Regions from separate parts of the Homo sapiens genome. Here region 1 is linked to region 2. Evidence: promoter capture Hi-C in human tissues and cell types (Jung and others, 2019). All regions are on one chromosome and are shown on one strand. The core of a region is centred on a gene start or on the middle of the fragment in contact, and the rest is flanking DNA. Distances in the headings are between cores, read along the strand shown. Region 1 has its middle 70 kb from the start of SPATA31F3. Region 2 holds the start of CCL21 (C-C motif chemokine ligand 21).

What was found. The method cuts DNA at HindIII sites, captures the fragments that hold promoters and counts their contacts. A contact is called where the count stands out against the background at its distance.
Region 1: a fragment that was not itself captured here is called in contact with the fragment with the promoter of CCL21 in region 2 in 2 of the 25 tissues and cell types used here (dorsolateral prefrontal cortex and lymphoblastoid cells).

Annotation. Positions count from the first base shown.
Region 1 is chr9:34,823,430-34,827,261 of GRCh38, forward strand. It overlaps a transcript of PHF24 not described here. Among named protein-coding and RNA genes, the nearest start is that of SPATA31F3, 70 kb to the right of the region's middle. The HindIII fragment of the contact is 6,147 bases long and covers 1-3,832 here.
Region 2 is chr9:34,707,433-34,711,392 of GRCh38, forward strand. It overlaps CCL21 (C-C motif chemokine ligand 21), which reads right to left and starts at 2,704. Exons shown (of 4, transcript NM_002989.4): 1 at 2,568-2,704; 2 at 2,345-2,465; 3 at 2,068-2,250; 4 at 1,573-1,995. The coding sequence starts at 2,634. The coding sequence ends at 1,962. It also overlaps a transcript of PHF24 not described here. The HindIII fragment of the contact is 9,492 bases long and covers 1-3,960 here.

The sequences.
Region 1 (3,832 bases), core at 789-3,288, 120 kb after region 2:
TTTGTTAGTGTCAGATGGTGTCCACAGCACCTTCGGGTCCCATCCTTGCCTACCTTTTCTAGATTCAGGAAGCTCTTTCTAGTATAGACTCTAAGCCCCTACCTGTCACCTAGAGCCTTCAGTGGTTGAGCAGCCTCAGAGAGATGTTCCATCCTGGAGACGTTGGGGCCTCCCTGCTTGGTCCTGTGGCTTAGAAAAAAGTTAGGAGCCCAAAGGAAAGGGGGGAAGCTTTGCTGGAGGTGGAAACCTGGCTGGATGAAAAACTAGGTCAGAAAACAGCTGCCCTGAGAGCAAGAATGGGATAGTGAGTCTCTGCCCACACTCTGGTCTGTGGGCGAACCTGGAAGCTTGAGAGGGAGGCACTGAGGCAGCCGAGAAGAGACTGAGCCACACATGACTTCAGCCCTACCTGTGATGATGAATTCAGATCTAACACTCTATCACCAGACTGAGATCCTGGAAGGTGAGAGGAACTGTGCTTATTCACATCTACCTCAGCCACAGTGTTAGCAGGCCCACTACCTCTCTAGGACAGGCACCTGGGCCAGTTCTGGAGTAGACGTCCTAGGTTTGGGTGTTGCAAGAGTCTGGAAATCCCCACATTGGAAAGGACCACACTCCCTTCACCCTCAGGGCCTGTTTGCTCTCGCCTGGTAGAGTTTCCAGGGCAGGAGATGCTCCCAGCTTGGCAGGTAAGAGCCACAGAGGGGTACGGTGGGAATTTCAGCTCAAGGGCTGGGCTAGTTCTGCAACAGAATTTGGAGTGGGCTGGGCCCTATAGGCCTGTATATCCGACAAGGGTCACAGAGTCTGGGGGCATGGCTGTTCCTGGGTTCCCAGGTGAGCATTGAGTCTTCCCAAACAAGATGCCCCATGGACTGTGCAGCTGTTATTGAAAGATCTCCTGAGCTCCTGGGGAAATATATGACACATATGTGTGCAAAATGTGTGTGCCTAGCATAGATGTATGTATTCCTCAATGTATAGCTACCTAGGGTTACAGTTAGAGTTAGAATTATGCTTAGAACAGCATTGATGTTATGGTTCCAGTTTGGAGTGAGGTAGTGGTAAGGATAGGGTGGGAATCATGGTGATATTAAAGTAGGGTTTGGAACTAGGTTTGTGGTTCCTGTTGATAGAAGTTGGTGTATCTTAGATGAGGAAGGTGTTAGGGTTGGAGTAAGGCACTGCTGGCATTTAGAATTTAGACAAAGAGATAAATTTTGTGTTGGAGGCTGATTTTAAGCTTTCAAGATAGTGTGGAGAGGGACTTAGGCTTATGCATAACATGTGTTAATCTTGTATAGATGACAGGTTGTTTGCTGTTTCTGGGTCCTCCACAGTTCATGGGTACAGAGTGGTCACTATAGCTGTGGTCCAGCTAGGGAAGGTAGGCATTAAGCTGCTGGGGAGAGGGCGGATCAGTTTTCTATCTCAAACTTATTTGGCCATGTAAACATTTTGGATCACAGTCACTAGTATTACCTGTCTGAGGTACAGTTGTTCCTTCTTATTTGAAAAACTATGGTTTAGAGGTTTCTTTGGAAATGGGGTTGGAGTTGGGTTTAGAGGTGTGGTCGATAGGGGTGGGATTGTGGTTAACATAAAGTTTAGGCTAGAGCTACATATGAGATCATGTCTTGTGTAAGGGTTTTCTAACTGGGGAACCAGGACCTGGTTCTTCATGGTTTCCCGAGGATAACGTGGACTAAGTGTGTCTACGTGGTTTGTTCTTCCCTTGTGTCTGCTATGTCAAAGAGTCTGAGAGTCAGGACCCTTCAAGGATGGAGCCAGCAGTAAATTGGGGGCCCTCAGGGTGATGGGTGTATAGGCGAAGGATGAGGCTGCTGAAGAGGACTCTCTTCCTGACCCTGACGTTCTTTAAGAGCACACAGCCACATTGTTGAGACCAGAGGTATGCATGTGAAACCAAAACTATCCTATTAAAGGACAAGCAATGGGACAGAAATGACAAACCAAAGTTTAAAGGAGAGATGAGCCTGGTCTGAGGTAGCCTAGAGGATTTATGGAGGAGAGGGTCTTTGCAGGATGGATTTGGACTGCATTTGTGTCTGTGGGTCTGTAAGATGGGCTGTCTGTTCTGTGTGCAAACTTGTCAACTTGTCTTTGTGTCTGTGCATTTTTGACTGTTTGCTCGAGCATGTCTGATGCAGGGTGTTCATGAGTCCTTGAACACCCAAGGACTCATGAACACCCAAATCCAAGTTCATGAGTCCAAGAACACCCAAGTCATGTCCAAGGAAGACATAAGTGTGTTTTTCTTGACATGTTTGTGCTTACTCTGAACTCTTAGGTTGGTGCAAAAGTAATTGTGGTTTTTGCCATTATGGCAAAACCATATGTGTGTAATTCTGCCCTGGCCCCTCACCGTATCTTCCCCCTCTGCCCTGATACACCCTAGCTGCTAGCACAATTTACTGCAAGGAGGGCTTCCCTTCCCACCGTCTGGATTCCCATGGGTCAGTCTGCCTGCCCAGGGACCCGCCCCTGTGGCCTTTGTAGTAGGCCTGACCTTGGAATTGATACACTCTGGAAATCCCCTAGTATGCTACTTGCCTGGCTGTGGACCAGGCAAGAACACGAGAGAAGTTTATAGAGGAGGAGAGGGACAAGGCAGGAAAGGGGGGTAGTTGGCAGCACCCACCCCTCCTTCTGGAAACTGGATCTCACTGGCCTCTTCCCAGGCCCCCCTCTCCCTCCCCATGCTCTCCCAGGGTCCTGGCCTCACTGTCTCCGGGCATGAGAATGCACAGACCTCTGTAAGCCTGGTCAGCCCTGTGAGGCATCTGGTCCTTTGTGTCCCTAAGCACTTTACATGCCTGGATTGTGCTTATCTGTCATATTGCCACCTGAGCTCAAGGAAGTCCTCCCTTCTCCTCTGTCCCTGCAGTGGACACAGAGGCCATTCTGGCCCTTCCATCTATGGCAGGCCTGGCCTAGACCATGGGCTCCAGAGGCCAGGTAGAGCATTCGGCCCTGGTTGTCTGGTTAAGCAGCAGAGGCCCAGCCACCTCCCACATGGTGCAGGAAGCAGTGTCTCCATGGAGTCTATTCCTGTGTTCATCCTGTGTCCCTTGCCCTCCCTGCCTGGGCTGCAGTGAGCAGGTATAGAAGTGAAGCAGTCACAGTCCCTGCCCTCAACAACTCAGCGTTGAACACAAGTGATGTTGTGGAGAAGCCACCCTCCTCCCACTGCTGGTGGTCGGTTTCCTGAAATTCCCTCCAGCCAATTCCGAAGTGCCCTTCTGGAAAGCCCAAGAGAAGAGCTCTAGAAGGTTGGGGCCATTCACCATGACATGTTGTTACCTGAGTGTGCCAGAGGTGAACCCAAAGATCCCAAGCAAGCACTGATGTATTCCTAGCATCTACCCCCAAACCTGAAGTAGTAAATTCTTGAGTTTATACCCTTCATGTGACTTTTGCTTCTTGCCTCTCTTCACCCTGGGGAAGATAGAACATGGATTTATGCAGGGATTATGGGATGAGCAAGGCTTCATCCACCATCAGCATTCCACATAAGTCATAGGCTATGACCCCTATTTCTCTTAGCTCTTGACTTTGCCAAGAACTCAGAATCCTGAAGCTATCAGTTTCAGCTCATTTCTCTGCCCCTGGGACTTCTGTCAGCAGCATGAGCCCATGCTGGCCTCAAGCAGGTAGGAGCCTGCAGGGAACCATGGGAAGGACCTGCTCCACCCTAAACCAGGATGTGTGCATGCTAACCCCTGGCTCCCTACCTGATGCTGCTGTGACCCTCCTGAGTCAATTCCCTTCATTCTGGGCTTCCCTCTATTCTCCTAGCTGTGTGGCT
Region 2 (3,960 bases), core at 1,454-3,953:
GCACTCTAGTGCAGTAGCTTGGAGTAGGAATTAAGTTCATTTAAGGAACATTTCAAAAGTAGTATTTCTTGCATATCTGAGTTTATAGATTAATTTCACACCTGCTGCCCTAGGACAGGCAGGGGAGAGGCCCTGTCTTCACCTGCTGCAAGAGGAGCAGACAAGCCAATACTTGAGGATGTTAGGATAGGTGGTAAGTGCTGTGGCATACTCAGGCTCCTACAGAAGGAAAAGTTGATGGAGCAGCCACTTCTAGCTTCTGAGGTTCCTACCTTTCTTCTTCTTCTTCTCCTCCTTTTTTTTTCTTTTCCTGAAATGGAGTCTTGCTCTTGTCGCCCAGACTGGAGTGCAATGGCACAATCGATCTCACCTCACTGCAACCTCCGCCTCCTGGGTTCAAGTGATTCTCCTTCCTCAGCCTCCCGAGTAGCTGGGATTACAGGCGCCCGCCACAATGCCCGGCTAATTTTTGTATTTTTAGTAGAGACGGGGTTTCACCATGTTGGCCAGGCTGGTCAGGAACTCCTGACCTCATGATCCGCCTGCCTTGGCCTCCCAAAGTGCTGGGATTACAGGCCTGAGCCACCGCGCCCGGCCTTGAGGTTCCTACCTTTCTTGCCCTTCCCCAGGATCTGTTCCCTTCTTTCTCACATTGTCTGGCCCAATCTGATGGCTTCTACTCTCCCCGCCTGGAGGTGATTTGGGGAATAGAAGGGTCTTCACTCTGGGGAGGAAGAGGTAGAGGAGAGCCATCTGAGGCCTTCCAGGAGAGGAGACTGATTCACACCTGAATCCTGGGGTTCTGAAAACCTGCCCCAGGAGACTTATTCCTTGACTTCAAAGGGTTAAATGGGCTAAAGTAGTCTGGATCCCAGCCAGGAAAGAAAGGAGGAAAAAAAAAGGGAGGAGGTTTTTCCATCTGGAAGGAGGCTGAGTGAGTCCAGGGGCCCAGATAGGAATAGAAGGAGAGCACAACAGCCCCATTAAACAAAGAGGAGAGGTCAAGGCCCGAGCTTCACTGAATAGGGCTGAAGCAAGTCCCCTCGGGTCTTTGCCTCCCAGGGGCTCTCTCAGGGCTGGAACTGTGCTAGGGCAGGTTTCAATATAACTTGTGTTTGTCTGTGTTATAGATGGGCCCAAGCCACAGCTTCCCTCCTAGGGACCCTTCCAAAGAACCACTTGGAGGGTCTCATTGAATAGTTCCCAGGGAAAAGAGAGGAAGCCTCTGGGATATCTGGGGAAAGGTCTGAAGGTCATGGAAAAGATCCGAAGGTCACCCCTGGAGTTAGTGCAGGACAGAATCAGGGTCTCAGAGGTCTGCAGAGCTGTTGGGGGTGTGTGCTCCATGTCCACCACCTCTCCATTGGCAGGATGCCTCAGAAGACTGGGTCCTACCCTGTCCTTCAGCCTCCCTTTAACTGCTCAGGGGTGCAGGCACCTGAGAGGCAAGGAAACTCTTGGGGTAGATGAGAACATAGCATTTTTCAGCCTGAGCTTTCGGCTCAGAGTGTGTGACCCCACCCTGTAGGAACCTTGGCATCTCGGTGGACATAAACACATGGGAACAGGTACTTGGGTGGGAAGACAGAACAGCTTTTTATTCAGTTAGGTATAAATCATATTTACAAGGAAGAGGTGGGGTGTACTGGGGAGCCGTATCAGGTCCAGGGTCCTGATGATTCTCCTTCAAGGGGACAGTCCTGCTGCCTCCTCTCATGCTCCCTGGGAGACTCTCCCTCCTCGGTCTCTCTGGACCTGGCCTGCTGTGGGCAGCTCAGCCATGCAGGGTAGAGCTGGGAATGCAGATGGGGTGGTTAAAGCAGGAGAAAGAGTGTGGCAAGGCCAGCATGGGGTGGCTGCTCCAGGGCCCCTGAGCATAGCCTCCTTCTTGCATCTTGGGTTCAGGCTTCAAGCGCTGGTGAGGCTGGTGGGGTCTCCAGGGCTCCAGGCTGCTCACTGGGCTATGGCCCTTTAGGGGTCTGTGACCGCTCAGTCCTGTGAGGGCAGAAGAGGGGTGTGAGGGGCTGACTGAGGCTCCCCTTTACCCACATCCCTCAGATTCCTCACCTCTTGCAGCCTTTGGAGCCCTTTCCTTTCTTGCCAGTCTTGGAGGCCCCCCTGTCCTTCCTGCAGCCCTGGGCTGGTTTCTGTGGGGATGGTGTCTTGTCCAGATGCTGCATCAGCTGCTGCACCCAGAGCTCCTTTGGGTCTGCACATAGCTCTGCCTGAGAGCGCTTGCGGGGCAAGAACCTGCGGGTGGGGGCTAGTAAGCCTTCTTAGTCTTGCCCACCATGCCCTCCCCACCCCGTCACCAGCCAGTACCCACCCCTTTGTGTCCACTCACAGGATAGCTGGGATGGAGCAGCCTAAGCTTGGTTCCTGCTTCCGGTAGCTGCGGACAACCTTGGCGGGAATCTTCCTTTGGCTGTACTTGAGGCAACAGTCCTGAGCCCCTCCATCACTGCCTGCAGGGTGGGATTCACAGGGAGCCAGGGGCTGCTGGCAAGCTCCTATCCAGGCCTCTTGATCCCCTTAGCCCCATGCAAGGCCCCTCCCTGCCTTGGTACCTTGGGTCCTGGGGATGCCAAAGGCCAGAACCAGGATAAGGAGGCTCAGAGCCAGTGACTGAGCCATGTCTGTGGTAGAGGGTGAGTAAGAGGCCAGAGCTGAGGGTGAGGTGGGCAGCTGCAAGTTGGGGGTCTGTGCGTGGGCTGGGATTGGCCTGCTATTTATGTAGCTAGACACTTTCACTTCCCTTAACTTATCCCCACTCCTTTTCCTTCCTGAAAGCTGGATTTGCTGGCACCCAGCCCCACTTATCTCAAACTAAGTGGACAGTCCTCAGCTGCCAAATTTTATGTCCTCATTAGTTGAATATGTCTGGGCCTGAGCCTTCCTTCTATTCCCAGCTACTGCTTTCATGCAGGCCTCACTGCCTCTCCCCTGGAACACCATGACTGTCTCCTCACTACGCTCCAGGATCCATACCCTTCCCCTCCTTCCAGCAAATCTGATTATTAAATTGTAAGAGTTCTTTTTTTTTTTTTTTTTTTTGAGACAGGGTCTAACTCTGTCACCCAGGCTGGAGTGCAGTGGTTGATCTTGGCTCACTGAAATCTCCGCCTCCTGGGCTCGAGTGATCCTCCTACCTCAACCTCCCCAGGAGCTGGGACTACAGGCAAGCACCACTGCGCCTGGCTGATTTTTCTATTTTTTTTTTGTAGAGACGAGGTTTCACGATGTCTAGCCCAGGCTAGTCTTGAGCTCCTGGGCTCAAATGATCTGCCTGCCTCAGCCTCTTGAGGAGCTGGGACCACAGGCACATGCCACTACGTCCGGCTACTGTTTTCATTTTTCATTTTTATTTTTTCTAGAGATGAGGTCTTGCTATGTTGCCCAGTCTGGTCTTGAACTCCTGGGCTCAAGCGATCCTCCTGCCTTGGCCACCCAAAGTGCTGGAATTATAGGTATGAGCGACTGCACCTGGTCTGTAGCATAACCATTTTGATTCCCCTTTGCTTTCCTTTTCTATATATTTTGTAGTTATTTTCCTAATGGATACCTTGGTGATTATAATTAACATTCTAAACTGATAACAACCTAGTTTGAATAATACCAACTTAGTTTCAATGGTATATAAACATTTTGCTCGTATACATTTTAGTCCCTTCTTTATATTGTTATTGTCACAGATTACATCTTTATACATTGTGTTCCCATTGACATAGATTTATAATTATTGTTTAATGCATTTTCCTTTTAAATTATATAGAAAAAAGTGGGGCTACAAACTAAAAATACAATACTAGCTTTTATCTTTTTTTTTTTTTTTGACACAGGGTCTCGCTTTGTCACCCAGGCTGGAGTGCGGTGGCACAATCTCAGCTCACAGCAGCCTCGACCTCCTGGGCTCAAGTGATCCTTCCACCTCAGTCTCCTGAGTAGTGGGGCCACCATGCC